Linked DNA regions of Homo sapiens: all the other regions are linked to region 3. Evidence: promoter capture Hi-C in human tissues and cell types (Jung and others, 2019). All regions are on one chromosome and are shown on one strand. Each heading gives the region's core, a stretch centred on a gene start or on the middle of the fragment in contact. The rest is flanking DNA. Distances are from core to core; before and after follow the strand shown.

Evidence for each region. The method cuts DNA at HindIII sites, captures the fragments that hold promoters and counts their contacts. A contact is called where the count stands out against the background at its distance.
Region 1: the fragment with the promoter of ZMIZ2 here is called in contact with the fragment with the promoter of POLM in region 3 in 3 of the 25 tissues and cell types used here (adrenal gland, heart left ventricle and spleen).
Region 2: the fragment with the promoter of PPIA here is called in contact with the fragment with the promoter of POLM in region 3 in 1 of the 25 tissues and cell types used here (spleen).

Annotation. Positions count from the first base shown.
Region 1 is chr7:44,746,059-44,750,440 of GRCh38, forward strand. ZMIZ2 (zinc finger MIZ-type containing 2) reads left to right here and starts at 2,789. Exons shown (of 19, transcript NM_031449.4): 1 at 2,789-2,933. RefSeq lists silencers at 2,284-2,813, 2,924-3,033, 3,044-3,093. The HindIII fragment of the contact is 31,122 bases long and covers 1-4,382 here.
Region 2 is chr7:44,794,826-44,799,061 of GRCh38, forward strand. It overlaps PPIA (peptidylprolyl isomerase A), which reads left to right and starts at 1,856. Exons shown (of 5, transcript NM_021130.5): 1 at 1,856-1,968. The coding sequence starts at 1,900. LOC105375259 (a long non-coding RNA gene) reads right to left here and starts at 1,705. Exons shown (of 2, transcript XR_007060300.1): 1 at 1,243-1,705; 2 at 291-599. RefSeq lists silencers at 1,397-1,596, 1,687-1,956, 1,977-2,326. The HindIII fragment of the contact is 11,905 bases long and covers 1-4,236 here.
Region 3 is chr7:44,081,280-44,085,494 of GRCh38, forward strand. POLM (DNA polymerase mu) reads right to left here and starts at 1,251. Exons shown (of 11, transcript NM_013284.4): 1 at 972-1,251. The coding sequence starts at 1,159. RefSeq lists an enhancer at 1,025-1,525 and a silencer at 1,237-1,816. The HindIII fragment of the contact is 16,372 bases long and covers 1-4,215 here.

The sequences.
Region 1 (4,382 bases), core at 1,539-4,038, 670 kb after region 3:
AGGGTTTCACCATGTTGGCCAGGCTGGTCTCGAACTCCTGACCTCACGTGATCTGCCTGCCTCGGCCTCCCAAAGTGCTGGGATTACAGGCGTGAGCCACCGCGCCAGGCAACTTTTTTTTTTGGGGGGGTGATGGTGGGGGGATAGAGTCTCGCTCTGTCACCCACGGTGGAGTGCAGTGGTGCGATCTCAGCTCACTGCAACCTCTGCCTCTCGGGTTCAAGCGATTCTCCTGCCTCCGCCTCCCGAATAGCTGGGAATACAGGTGCATGCCACCACACCTGGCTAATTTTTGTATTTTTAGTAGAGTAGGGTTTCACGCCACCATGCCTGGCTAATTTTTGTATTTTTTAGTAGAGACAGGGTTTCACCATGTTGGCCAGGCTGGTCTCGAACTCCTGATCTCAGGTGATCCACCCATCTTGGCCTCCAAAAGTGCTAGGATTACAGGCGTGAGCCACTGTGCCCGGCCTCAAGGAAGACTTTCTTAACAATTCATCATATAGTAGAAAATGAAAACATTCCCTAGAAAGGAGTGGACACCAGGTGGCCTTTCCCAGGGGAGCAGGGCAGGAATTATTGAAGCAGTTAGGAGGTGAGAGAGATGCCTGCCCTGGGGGCACCTGGGATGCTTGGCGTGGCCACTTCCAGCATCCTCCACAAACCTGCCTGCAACTCCCCCATACATGCAGCCTCTTCCGAGACAGAGGAATGGTCAGGGTCCCCTGGTGCCTGCCTCCCCCTTCATTTGGGTCTCTTCTTCAGGGCCAGCTCCACAGAGAATCCGTCCCTCATACCTCATCACTCCCTCCCCATTCTCTGGCCCTGATTTAGTTTTCTTCCTAACACTCTTTCTGACAGACACACTGTTACCTGTTAACTCATTTCCTTCTGTTTGTCCCCTCTAACATGCTTGCTGTATGGATGGAGGGGCCTTATTCTCCTGGTTCCTGGGGACAGACCAGTGTTCACAGACCCCAGACCAGGGACTGTTGTACAGCAGGCCTGCCATATTTGTTCAATGAACGAATGATTCCCAAAAGAAATAGAGCACAGAGTTCAGAGGCGGCCTTCAGGGAAGAAATTTCAACAATGTCAAAAATTAATTGTGGAGTATCCATTGATAGATGAATGGATAACTTAAATGTGGAATATGCATACAATGGAATATTATTCAGCCATAAGAAAGAAGGGGCTGGGCGCCGTGGCTCACGCCTGTAATCCCAACACTTTGGGAGGCCCAGGCAGGCGGATCACGAGGTCAGGAGATCGATTCCATCCTGGCCAACATGATGAACCCCGTCTCTACTAAAACACACACACAAAAAAATTAGCCAGGCGTGGTGGCGTGCCCCTGTAGTCTCAGCTACTCAGGAGGCTGAGGCAGGGGAATCGCTTGAACCTGGGAGGTGGAGGTTGCAGTGAGCCGAGATTGCACCACTGCACTCCAGCCTGGCGACAGAGTGAGACTCCGTCAAAAAAAAGAAGGGAAGGGAAGGGGAGGGAAGAAGGAAGGAAAGAAGGAAGGAAAGAAAGAAAGAAAGAAAGAGAGAGAGAAAGGAAAGAAAGAAAGAAAGAAAGAAAGAAAGAAAGAAAGAAAGAAAGAAAGAAATTCTGACACATGCCACAACATGGATGGAAGTGAGGACACTGTGCTAACTAAAGTAAGACTGTCACAAAAAGACATATAATGTATGATTCCACTTATACGATGTCCTTAGAGTAGTCTAATTTAGAGACGAATAGTGAATGCCAAAGGCTAGGAGGAGGAAAGAATGGGGAGCTAGTGTTTACTGGGTATGGAGTTTCCATTTGAGAAGATGAAAAAGTCCTGGAGACGGTTGGTGGTTGCACAAGAATGTGAATGTACTTGGTGCCACAGAACTACACTTGGAAACAGTTAAGATGGTAAGTTTTACGTTATGTGTATTTTACCACAATTAAGAAAAATTAATTATGGGTAGTTGAGAGAATGTGGTCTTCCTCAACTTACGGTAGGAAAAGTCAAGAATAACTTAAAGGCTGATAATAGCATTTCAAAGATCGAAACTGATCAGAGAGGCTATTCCATCAGGCTAGACTAGCTCAATAGTGACTTTTTCCAGAAGGAGAACCACTGGGAAGAGAGAACTGAGCAGTGAGGACAGCGAACTTGTTAAGTTTAGTTTTCTGCTTTAACGAGGGGCTTCCGGAGTCCTTTAATAAGATCCCCTCCCAAAAGTGGCACCCTGGGTCTCTCTGTCTCCCAGTCGTGTCCCCGCCCGCCGGGCCAGAGCAATGGACTCCCAGGAAGCAGGGGGGGCGCGGGCGGGGCGCGGGCGGGGCGGGTGGGGGAAGGGCAAGGACTCACTCTTCCTTTCCTCCTCCGCCGGGGCCCGCCCCGAGCCCTGGCCCCACCCCGGCTCTCTGGATCCGCCTCCTCCTCCCGACCCCGCCCCGGCACCTTGGCCCCGCCTTCCACTCGGCCCCGCCCCGGCGTCCTGGCCCCGCCTCCGCCGCCCGGCCCCGCCCCGCTCCCGGCGGACTGCGAGCAGGAAGAGCGCAGTGGCTCTGCCGACGCCGCGTTCAGAAAGGTGTGGAGGGGGCTGGGGGCGCAGGTCGCGATCAGGCTGCGTCTCCTGCCCGCCCAGCCACCTGCGGCCCTGGCCCCACCCTGCCGCTTTGGGCCGCTCGGGCTCGCGGCCGCCCCCGCCCCGAGCGCCGGCTCGGGGCTCTGCTGCTCTGGCCTGGGAGGCGGGGCCGGCTGCGCGGCGTCATGCATATGCATGAGCGGCGCGGCGGCGGCTCCATTGTGCCCTCGGAGCGGGCGGCGGCGCGATGGCGCGGGTGGCGGCGGCCCCGGGGCGGCGGGCGGCGCGGAGGGCGGGCTGAGCGCATGGAGCGGCGCGGGCCGGGGGCCGCCACGGCGAGGGGCCGGGCCAGGCCGGGCGGAGGTGAGCGGGGTCCTGGGGGTGGCCCCTGGCAACGCCGCCAGCAGGCAGGTGTGGGCCGGCGGGGGCAGGCAGGTGCGGCAGGTGCGGGCCGGCAGGTGCGGGCGGGCAGGCAGGTGTAGCTGGTCGCCCGGGGCGCCCCGGTTCCGCTGCGGCGCCACGGTAGGGTTCACAGCTGGGCTGGGGCTAGAGGCTCTGCCGCCCACCTGCCGGCACCTGCCACGCGTGCGTCGTGGTCTTGGGCAGGCTCGGCCCCGTGGGCGTCAGGGTCATCCAGCCCTCCCCTGAGTCTTTGTTGGAGGCTGGCCGAGGGGTGTAAGCGGCGCTCGGGGTTCTCCTGAGCGATGAAGGCTGGCCGGGCCTTCGCTCCAACCTGATCGTTCCTAGCTTTGGGGCCAGGCAGTCTCACCTACATGGTACGCCCCTCCGCTCCTACTTACGTGCCCACCAGCACGGCGATGTGGGGGCCGTCTGAGGCCGTCACCTGCTCGCGGAGGAGCTGTTCCGCTCCTGGGCTGAACGACGCTGAGCGGCCAGCCCCCAGCTGCCAGTTTTGATGGGGACACCCCTTTCCAAACTGGACATACTGAAGCTCAGGCGTGAGGATGCCCTGCTCCCCTGAGGTGCCTTGTCTTCCCTAGTGCCAGGTGTCCTTCACCGCGGCACCCCCACCCGGTGCCTTGTTTACCCCTCCACCTACCGTGTCTCTCCTCCCATTCCCTGGACCCTCTGCCCTGCAGTGTTCTGCCTCTCCTTCTCCCTAGGGTACCCTCTTTCCAGTATTACAGAACATCCATGGTGGTGTCTTTAATTTGTGTCATCGCAGATTTCACAGGGACACACACGGAACATGTGACTTGGTCTGAGACCGTGGTGATTACGGATAGGATGGACACAGACTCACCACCAAGTTCTGGCAAGCTAGAACCAGAGGGCATCCCTTGATGCTTAGTGTGGAAACAGGAGAAGTGAAGGAATCTTAACTTCCAGAGGTACTGACCTCTAGCCCTTGTCATGCCCAGGGGATAGTTACAAGCTGGAAGTGTAAATGAAGAGAACAAGCAGGTGACAGTTGCCGGTTGTAGATTTCTGAAGGACAGGCCTAAGATGTTTGGGGAGCATCCTGATTATTGGGATTGAGCTCCCAAGGGCTGATGACATGAAGGTGGTCATGTGTCCTCAGTCCTAGGATGCTACCAGATATCCATCTTACACATTGTAAACTGATGCCAGGTTAAGGTTGTCCCTTCAGCTGTTCACTGAAATGTCTCATGCCTGGGCCATTGCTTATTCCTGGACTTTTTGATGAACTCTGCATCCTGACTTAGCCCCACGCTTAGACATTTTAGTACTGTGGCCTTACAGGTAGAGGGGGCAGGACTTTCAGCTACCTGTATATGTGAGTACCCCACTTTTTGCTACCAAGGACCCCGCTCCTGCAACATTCCACAG
Region 2 (4,236 bases), core at 606-3,105, 710 kb after region 3:
ATCTTTACAAAACACACACACACAAAATGAGCTGGGTGTGGGTGCATGCCTGTAGTCCCAGCTACTTGGGAGGCTAAGGTGGGACGCTTGCTCGAGCACGGGAAGGGGAGGTTGCAGTGAGCCGATAACACACCACTGCACTTCCAGCCTAGGTGAGAGTGAGACCTTGTCTCAAAAAAACAAAAAGAAACATTAAATAATATCCTTAATATTGCAACTTAAGTGACAGCCCAGGATATATGAATTCCCTTGTAAGGTTTTCTTAACAAAACACCAGTCACATAAGTGCATTTTATTTTATATTTTTGTTTATTTATTTGAGACGGAGTCTCTGTCTCTCAGGCTGGAGTGCAGTGGCGCCATCTCTGCTCGCTGCAACCTCCACCTCCTGGGTTCCAGCGATTCTCCTGCCTCAGCCTCCCGAGGGGGTAGCTGGGACTACAGGTGCGCACCACCATGCCCAGCTAATTTTGTATTTTTCGTAGAGATGGGGTTTCACCATGTTGTCCAGGCTGGTCTTGAACTCCTGACCTCAGGTGATCCTCCCGCCTCGGCCTCCCAAAGTGCTGGAATTACAGGCGTGATCCACCGCACCCGGCCTATTTTTTGAGAGAGGGTCACACTCTGTCGTCCCGGCTGGAATGCAGTGATGCGATCACCGCCCACTACAGCCTCGACCTCCGGGCTCAAGCAATCCTCCCCGCCCAGCCTCCTGAGTAGCGAGCGCCTCGACGCCCAGCTAATTTTTATTTTTATTTATTTTTTTGTAGAGACGGCGTCTCTCTAAGATGCCCAGGCTGGTGGCCGGTGTCGAACTCCTAAGATGAAGCGATCCTCCCCGGCCTTGGCCTCCGCGCCTCCTAAAGCGCCAGGTATGAGCCACCGCGCCTGGCCTACAAGTGCATTTTAATTAAAGTATTATTAATGTCTTTGCCTGAAGAAATTCGCTTTTAAATTGTGACTTATCTTTCACCCAAAAATCAAAGCACAATTCAGCCCCGAGGCGGGGGCGGTAGGAGCTGGGCGGGGCGGGGGCAGGGAAAGACCAGGAGCAGAGATTCAAAAAGAGTAAGAGGGCAAAATGTGCATAATGCATCTTCACAGGTAAGAGCCTGGCCAGGCTCCTGTTTTAATGGCTTCCTCCTGAAGAAGATTCAAGCAGAGTGTAAGATATTTTCGGAAAGTAGAGCATTTTGAAAGCATTTCATAATCTCTCAAAACCGGAGACTGCTCCTGTCCCACCTCGTTAGAGAAAACAGCGATGCTCAAAGGCAACCTCCTTCCTGACATTGCCTGGTAGGACGCGACGTGGTGTTTGCCCGCGCGGAATGCGGACGCAAGGCTGCTCCTAGGTCTCGGGGACGCGCCATCCCCATTTCCGCTCGCGGAGGCGTAGGGTCCGGGCGCGGGACCCCAGTCGACCTTGACTGGCGGCGCGACCTTGAGGCCTGCGTTCGCCTCAGTTGCCCCCTCTGTGCAATGGGGAGACGCGCCTCATCGCTTGACAACGGCCGAAGAGCCGCCGCGCTTCCGTCTCCCGCGTGCGCGCGCCATGCTGCCCACCCCCGTTCCGCACTGACCCTCCCCCGTGCCCCGCGTCCCGTACTGCCGCCCCGCCCCGAGTCCCATGCCGCAGCCACCGCGACGGAGCCCGCAGGCGGGAACCTGCCTCCGCGCGTTAGCGCGCACGCGCGCCTCATGTGTCGTCCCCATCAGCGCCGGCTTCCGTCTATAGGCCAGATGCACTGTCACTCTGGCGAAGTCGCAGACCCGATTGGCCGGGACGGAGGCGCGAGACCGGGTTGCGGGCGGGGCCGAACGTGGTATAAAAGGGGCGGGAGGCCAGGCTCGTGCCGTTTTGCAGACGCCACCGCCGAGGAAAACCGTGTACTATTAGCCATGGTCAACCCCACCGTGTTCTTCGACATTGCCGTCGACGGCGAGCCCTTGGGCCGCGTCTCCTTTGAGGTCGGGCGGGCGGCGGCGTGCGGGAATGGGGCCCAGAAAGTGGGCCGGGGTCGGGGTGGGTGGTAGCGCCCCAAAGGCCCGGGCGCGGGGCGACCCTGCTTGAGGGGCGAGCGCGGGCGGGCTGCGGCGCCATTTCCTGACGAGGGGCCATTTTGGGAGGTCCGCGAGTCGCGGGGAGGAGGCCGGGACGGCGGCGGACAAAGGCAGGCGGGGCGGCTGCGAGGCCGTTGGGGGAGGGGGCCCGCGTCCGCCCGCCCGCCTCATGTGGCCGCGCCCTGTCCTGTCCGACGCACGTGCTCGGCGGCCGCGCTCAGGTCCGCGCCTTGAGAGTCGTTGGGCTCCGCCCTAGCTTGGCCTGGGCGCCGCAGACCGGAGCCAGAAGCACGCTCGCGGGGGCTTGCGACCGCCTTCCTGGGAAGCTGTCCCCTGGCAGGCATGGGTGCTTTACATCCTGAGCTGGGAAGCTGTTTGCTTGAGGGTTTTTCTCAAGGATCGAGGCGCGGTGTGAGCCCGTCCATGCTCGGTCCTGTAGATCCCGGGAGGCCATGTTATAAAAGGAGACTTGCTGGGATGTGACGGGTTGCCACTTGAAATATCTTCCATTTGGATAAAGTAGGAATATTTATACATGTGCCCCAAACGTCCCTCCGTGTCCCCCACCCCCAAGCGGAAATGTGAAAATGGGCCTTGCCTTTGCTGGTGCCCAAGGACCGCCTTCCACTGCAGTGACGGCGCTGGCGGGGGAGGCGCTCTTGAGCCCCTCCCGATTGTCCCTCTGCCTAGCAAGCAAGTTGCGACTGGCCACAAGGCAGGCCTCTTCCGACCAAGGTGGATTACCAGTGATTACCTAATTAGTTTTGAGAGCGTTAAATGAGTTCTTAAAGATCAGTTGTAATTATAGCATAGTATCTAAACTTGGCGCGTGTCTTCAAAGTTAAATATTGAGTACGATTCCGTTCCAGTTAACATGGATAGACCTTAGGGAGTAGCGAAATAGGATGTTAGTGGTTTTATTCCTTTAAATCACATCTCAAAAGGCCACCAATGGCTAGTTTGGGATCTTATTCCGAAAATAGATTGATCCTCATGCAGTCTTCGTGAGGACAGAGCGATTTCCTTGTTGCCTACCCTGTCCATAGTGCCTGGCACATAGGCACTGAAACACTGCATGTTAATCCACACCCCACCCCACCTATGAGTGTAGTCAAAGCTGGTAAGTGACAAGGGCTTTCGTGGAAACTTGGCCTGACCTAATGTTGGGCATCAGGTTACCCAAAGAGCTTCAGGGAAATGAGAAAGGACTTGCAGGTCTTGATGAGAATGGAGGGGTAACTGCCAATGAGGGCTTTGGCTTTAGCGAAAGTCTGAAAGGGAAGCCATAGGAACTTAAACGTACCGACTATAAAGCTCTGAGAAAAGCTGATGTTTTAGAAAGACCATACATTCTAGGTACAAATACCTAAAAACTAAAAAATAAGTACGTTGGCCAGGCGGGCGGATCACGAAGTCAGGAGATTGAGACCGTCCTGGCCAACATGGTGAAACCCCACCTCTATTAAAAATACAAAAATTAGCTGGGCGTGGTGGCGCTTGCCTGTAATCTCAGCTACTCTAGAGGCTGAGGCAGGAGAATCGCTTGAACCCCGGAGGCGGAGGCTGCAGTGAGCCGAGATCGTGCCACTGCACTCCAGCCTGGTGACAGTGAGACTCTTGTCTCAAAAAAAAAAAAGTACATTGCTATAAGAGAAGTGCACACGGATACTAGTAGTTAATTCAGTCACATCTGTGAAATAGCTTATAAAATGCTACTTTTAAACAAGCTGTTTTTATGAAAGGGCTTGTAAATGTTTATGGTATTTAAGCTACCTCTCTAGCCATAACGTATTATACATTCAAGAAAGGTTCAAAACCAGATATACTAGAAACCAATCTTTATTTTTTACCCCACTACTAGGTAAGGGGCCTGGATACCAAGAAGTGACTGCTCATCTAATCCATAAAGCTATGTTAACAGATTGGAGGTAGTAGCATTTTCATTACAAGTGACTAAAAGAACAGCTGTTTACCCCTGATCGTGCAGCAGTGCTTGCTGTTCCTTAGAATTTTGCCTTGTAAGTTCTAGCTCAAGTTGGGGGGTGGTGATAGACATTTAAGAAGCCATATATCTTTTCAGAAGTAGGTGTGATGTACTAAAAGTTTGAGACACTTTCTAGAAGTCTCACTATTTAAGTTATGACTAGTATTGGATTTTTGGCATGTCTTTGGGTT
Region 3 (4,215 bases), core at 1-2,500:
CTGCCTGCCACATACTTGTTTGGCTCTTGGGCAAGCCACGTGTCTATACTTTGATTTCCTCTTCTGTAAAGCAGAGATAACATATCCACCCTGTGGGGTTGTTGTACAAAGATAGTGCCTTGTACACTCTAAGCTGCTATCATCCTCTCCTGAGTGGGTCTGGCGCACTACTGATCCCTGGTAATGTTAAAAAATCAAACACAACTGTGGGGGAATACTAGCCCCAGGTTCGTTTGCTCTCTCAACCTCCAAACTAGGGGGCACCCCCAGCTCCCTTACTCTGGGTGTTGTCTCTGTAGCCGCCATTTTTTCTTCTCTTGGTTCCCTTCCTACAAGAGCTTCTCAGTCGTGTTATTTACTCAGGCCTGAGGACAGAGGAGCCTGCGGGCTCCGGGCCTCTTGAGAAGTCAGTCTCGCTCACAGGTGGGACATAGCCCAGGCAGAAGGGCTGTTAGCAAATACGACTTTTTTTTTTTTTTTTTTTGAGACAGAGTCTCACTCTGTCGCCCAGGCTGGAGTGCAGTGGCGCGATCTCGGCTCACTGCAAGCTCCGCCTCCCAGGTTCATGCCATTCTCCTGCCTCAGCCTCCCGAGTAGCTGGGACTACAGGTGCCCGCCACCACCTCCGGTTAATTTTTTGTATTTTTAGTAGAGACGGGGTTTCACCGTGTTAGCCAGGATGGTCTCGATCTCCTGACCTCGTGATCTGCCCGCCTCGGCCTCCCAAAGTGCTGGGATTACAGGCGTGAGCCACCGCGCCCGGCCTACTGCTTATTAATTACCCCTGACCTCTGGTTTTGATTCTCGCAGTGATCCTTTAAAACACGCCTCGCCCTAATTAATAGCACCCTTTACAGAAGAGGAGATGGAGGCTCAGGGAAAGGTCACAAGACCACGAAGTGCCACTGCAAACTTAGAATCCAAAACCAGAAGTGCCATGGAAGCCCTCGCCGCGCCGCGCCGCCCCGCACCTGCAGGCGTCAAGGACGCGGAAGCCTTTGGAGCGCGCCAGGCCTGTGAGGAAGGCCCGGCGGCTGCGACCCATGCGAGGCTCGACCAGGTAGATGGCGACTCCCGGGAAGCGCGTCGAGGGCGGCGTGGAGGAAGCGGCATCGCCGCTAGGGGACCCGACCCGCGCTCGCCGCCGTTTGGGGAGCATTGGGACGACAGCCTCCAGCAGCGCGGAGCGAACGCAGAGGGAAACTCCGAGCGAGACGGAAGGAAGCCCCAGTGAGGCTGACGGAAGCGGGTGGGCGGGCGGGCGGCCGCCGGCTGGAAGAGGACGTGGCCCCGCCCTATGCAAATGAGGCCTCTCCGTGGGGCTCGCTACTTGGGCCAGTCGGAGCGCTGGGGAGGGTCCGGGCTCCTACAGGATTGGGTGTCCCGGCCGCTCCGGAAGACCCGCCTCCATGCAAATAACGGCAGAGGACCCGCCTTTTATTTAAATTAATGTCTCGGAAAGCGCTGTTCGGCCCCATTGGCCTCCGGGAGGAGAGGCTGGGCTGGAGCGGGGCGGGGAGGGTGTTGGAGGGGGTGGAGGAGGCGGGGTCAAGGGGGCGTCCCCGGCTAGGGAGGGTGAACTGGGACCTAGGCCCGGGCGGAGCGGGGTGGGCTGTGTCCTTGGCGCCGGGGCTGGGTCTAGGGTTGAGCCGGCGGCTCGGGGCGGACGCGTGCGGGCTGTGCCCGATCCCTCTGCGCTCGGGACTGTCACACGGAAGCCGGCGGGCGCAGGACCGACACGCGGGTTTCCAATGCGCTGGTGGGGCGGTCGCTTCAAACACGCGGGAAGATTTTTCAGTCGAATGGCATTAGGACAACTGGCAGGCCATTTGGAAAAATAGAAGTTGGTGCCCTTCCTCATTCCTTAACACCAAAATAAATTCCAGATGGGTCAAACATTTCCATCTAAAAAGGAAACCAACAACGTACTGGAAAAAAGTCGGTGAATGTTTTTATGATCTAAATATCACAATAAACTTGGAAACACTAAAGGAAAAGAATGATAAACTGGACTACAGACAAATTTTAAATCTGATTAAAAATTAGAGTCAGAAGATAAACTGGGATAAAGTGTGAGATATTTTGGAATTAAGATTATCTCATGATAATCTTATCAAATTGTCCATAGATAAAAAGACAATAATTTAATAGAAAAATTAGCAAAAAAACTCACGTAGATGATTCTTAGAAGAAATCCTGGTCAATAAATTTATGACCAGAGTGCCCAACCTGTCCAGTCGTTACAGAATACCTAAATGAGAATATCTTCAGTTGTGGGTTTATCAAACATTCAAAAAAATTGACCACACATGTTGAAGGTGCGAGGTAATTGGCAATCCATAGGAAGGACTGTGGAAGCCAATGTGGCAACCACATCCAACAAAATGAAAACAAAATAATACACATTGATCCAGCAATTCCTTTCCCAAGATTGGGATTGCATTGAATCTATAGATCAAGCTGGGGAAATCTGATGTCTTGATAATATCAAGTCTTCTGTCTATCTTATTTAGATATACTCCATTTGTAACCTCTGTTACGGTAGTGTGGCACTGCTCAGCCTAACTGATGGGACACCAGATCAGATGCAACCCCCTTCCACATGCCTCTCCTCATCACTGCCCCATCGTCCTCAGTCTTGAGCCCCAGACTCCTTGAGCACCTATCCTTTTTCTTTGGCTCCTCTCTGACATCTTTAGTGGGCTGGCTCTTCCCCATCTCTGCACTCAGAGCACAGGGCTGAGGGGAGTGGGGGAGATGGCTCAGCCCAGGCATCCTCTTGACCTCCTACACCATCTCCCAGCCTCCTAATTCATCTACCTCTTCAGGGCTGTAGAGCTTCCTGGGCCTCAGGACCCACATACAGAAGCCAGGAGGCCTGCGTATGGTCCCTCTCTCCCCATCCTCCCCTTGTGCCAGCAGGGATGGGCAGGCTCTAAGGGTCTTCGTCTGTGGATCTGGCTCCTACCCTTCTCAAGGAGGAGGCTCTGCCCAAATATCCCCTGAGCAGATCCCTCTAGCTGTCTAAAACCATTTCTGTTCCTTTTAATGTCCTCTGTCTGGCCAGAGCACCTGGGCTCCCCTTGGAGCCCTTGTTCTCTCCTGGGAAGGCAGAGGCAGTTTTTAAGACTATGAGACCTGAATACTTAAAACACTGGGCAACTGTGCAAAAATGTTTGTGCAAGGAATCTCATCCAAATGACAGTGGAAGAAACTGCCTAGCTTAGAAATCAGCCAGGCCCTCTGAGTGGTTGCTGCAAAGTGTCTGCTAGGACAACATGGGGCTGAAGGATTCATGAAGATTGGCCAGTGGGGGCAAGAAGGGGTGAGGAGGTGGGGAGAGAGAGGGACTTGCCTGCTCTGCAGGACGAAGATGTGCCCTATACCCAGGGAGAGGTGGCCTGCCGTGGAGGTGAAACCACCTTTGCAGAATTGTAAGTCATGAGAGAAATCTAACATGACTGCCTCCCTCTTGCATCTAACCTCACAGACTAAATTGGTTTTCTTATTTCTTTTTTTTTCTTCTTCTTCTTGTAGTGCAGAGGCCAACATAACTATGAGAGGAATTTAGTTCATAGTTAAAGGCAAGAAAAACTGACCCCCTCCTTGTTTGGAGATTGAAACCACATTCATAAGACAAGGTTAGAATTGTGGTGGGGCCTGAACTTTGCTAAAGAATGGGCATAAACAGCGACCTGCCGTTTCTCACTTGGCTTGCTTTTCTATAATGCTTACTGCCCTGGAGTCACATAGCCGGAAATCTCAAGATTTCTAACTTCTCCAGCTGCTCATATAGAGGCCGGGCACAGTGGCTCACACCTGTAATTCCAGCACTTTCGGAGGCCAAGGCGGGTGGATCACTGGAGGTCAGGAGTTCGAGACCAGCCTGGCCAACATGGTGAAACTCTATCTCCCTAAAAATACAAAAAAATTAGCTGGGAGTGGTGACACATGCCTGTAATCCCAGCTACTCAGGAGGCTGAGGCAGGAGAATTGCTTGAAGCTGGGAGGTGGAGTTTGCAGTGAGCTGAGATCATGCCACTGCACTCCAGCCTGGGAGACAGAGCAAGACTCCGTCTCAAAAAAAAAAAAAAAAAATCACTATTATGAAACCTAAAGAACTTTGAGATATTTTCTAGATTTAGAATTTTAGCAGACCAAGAGACACTACCTGGACCTGTGACCCACACCAAGAAACTGACTCAGCTGCTTGAA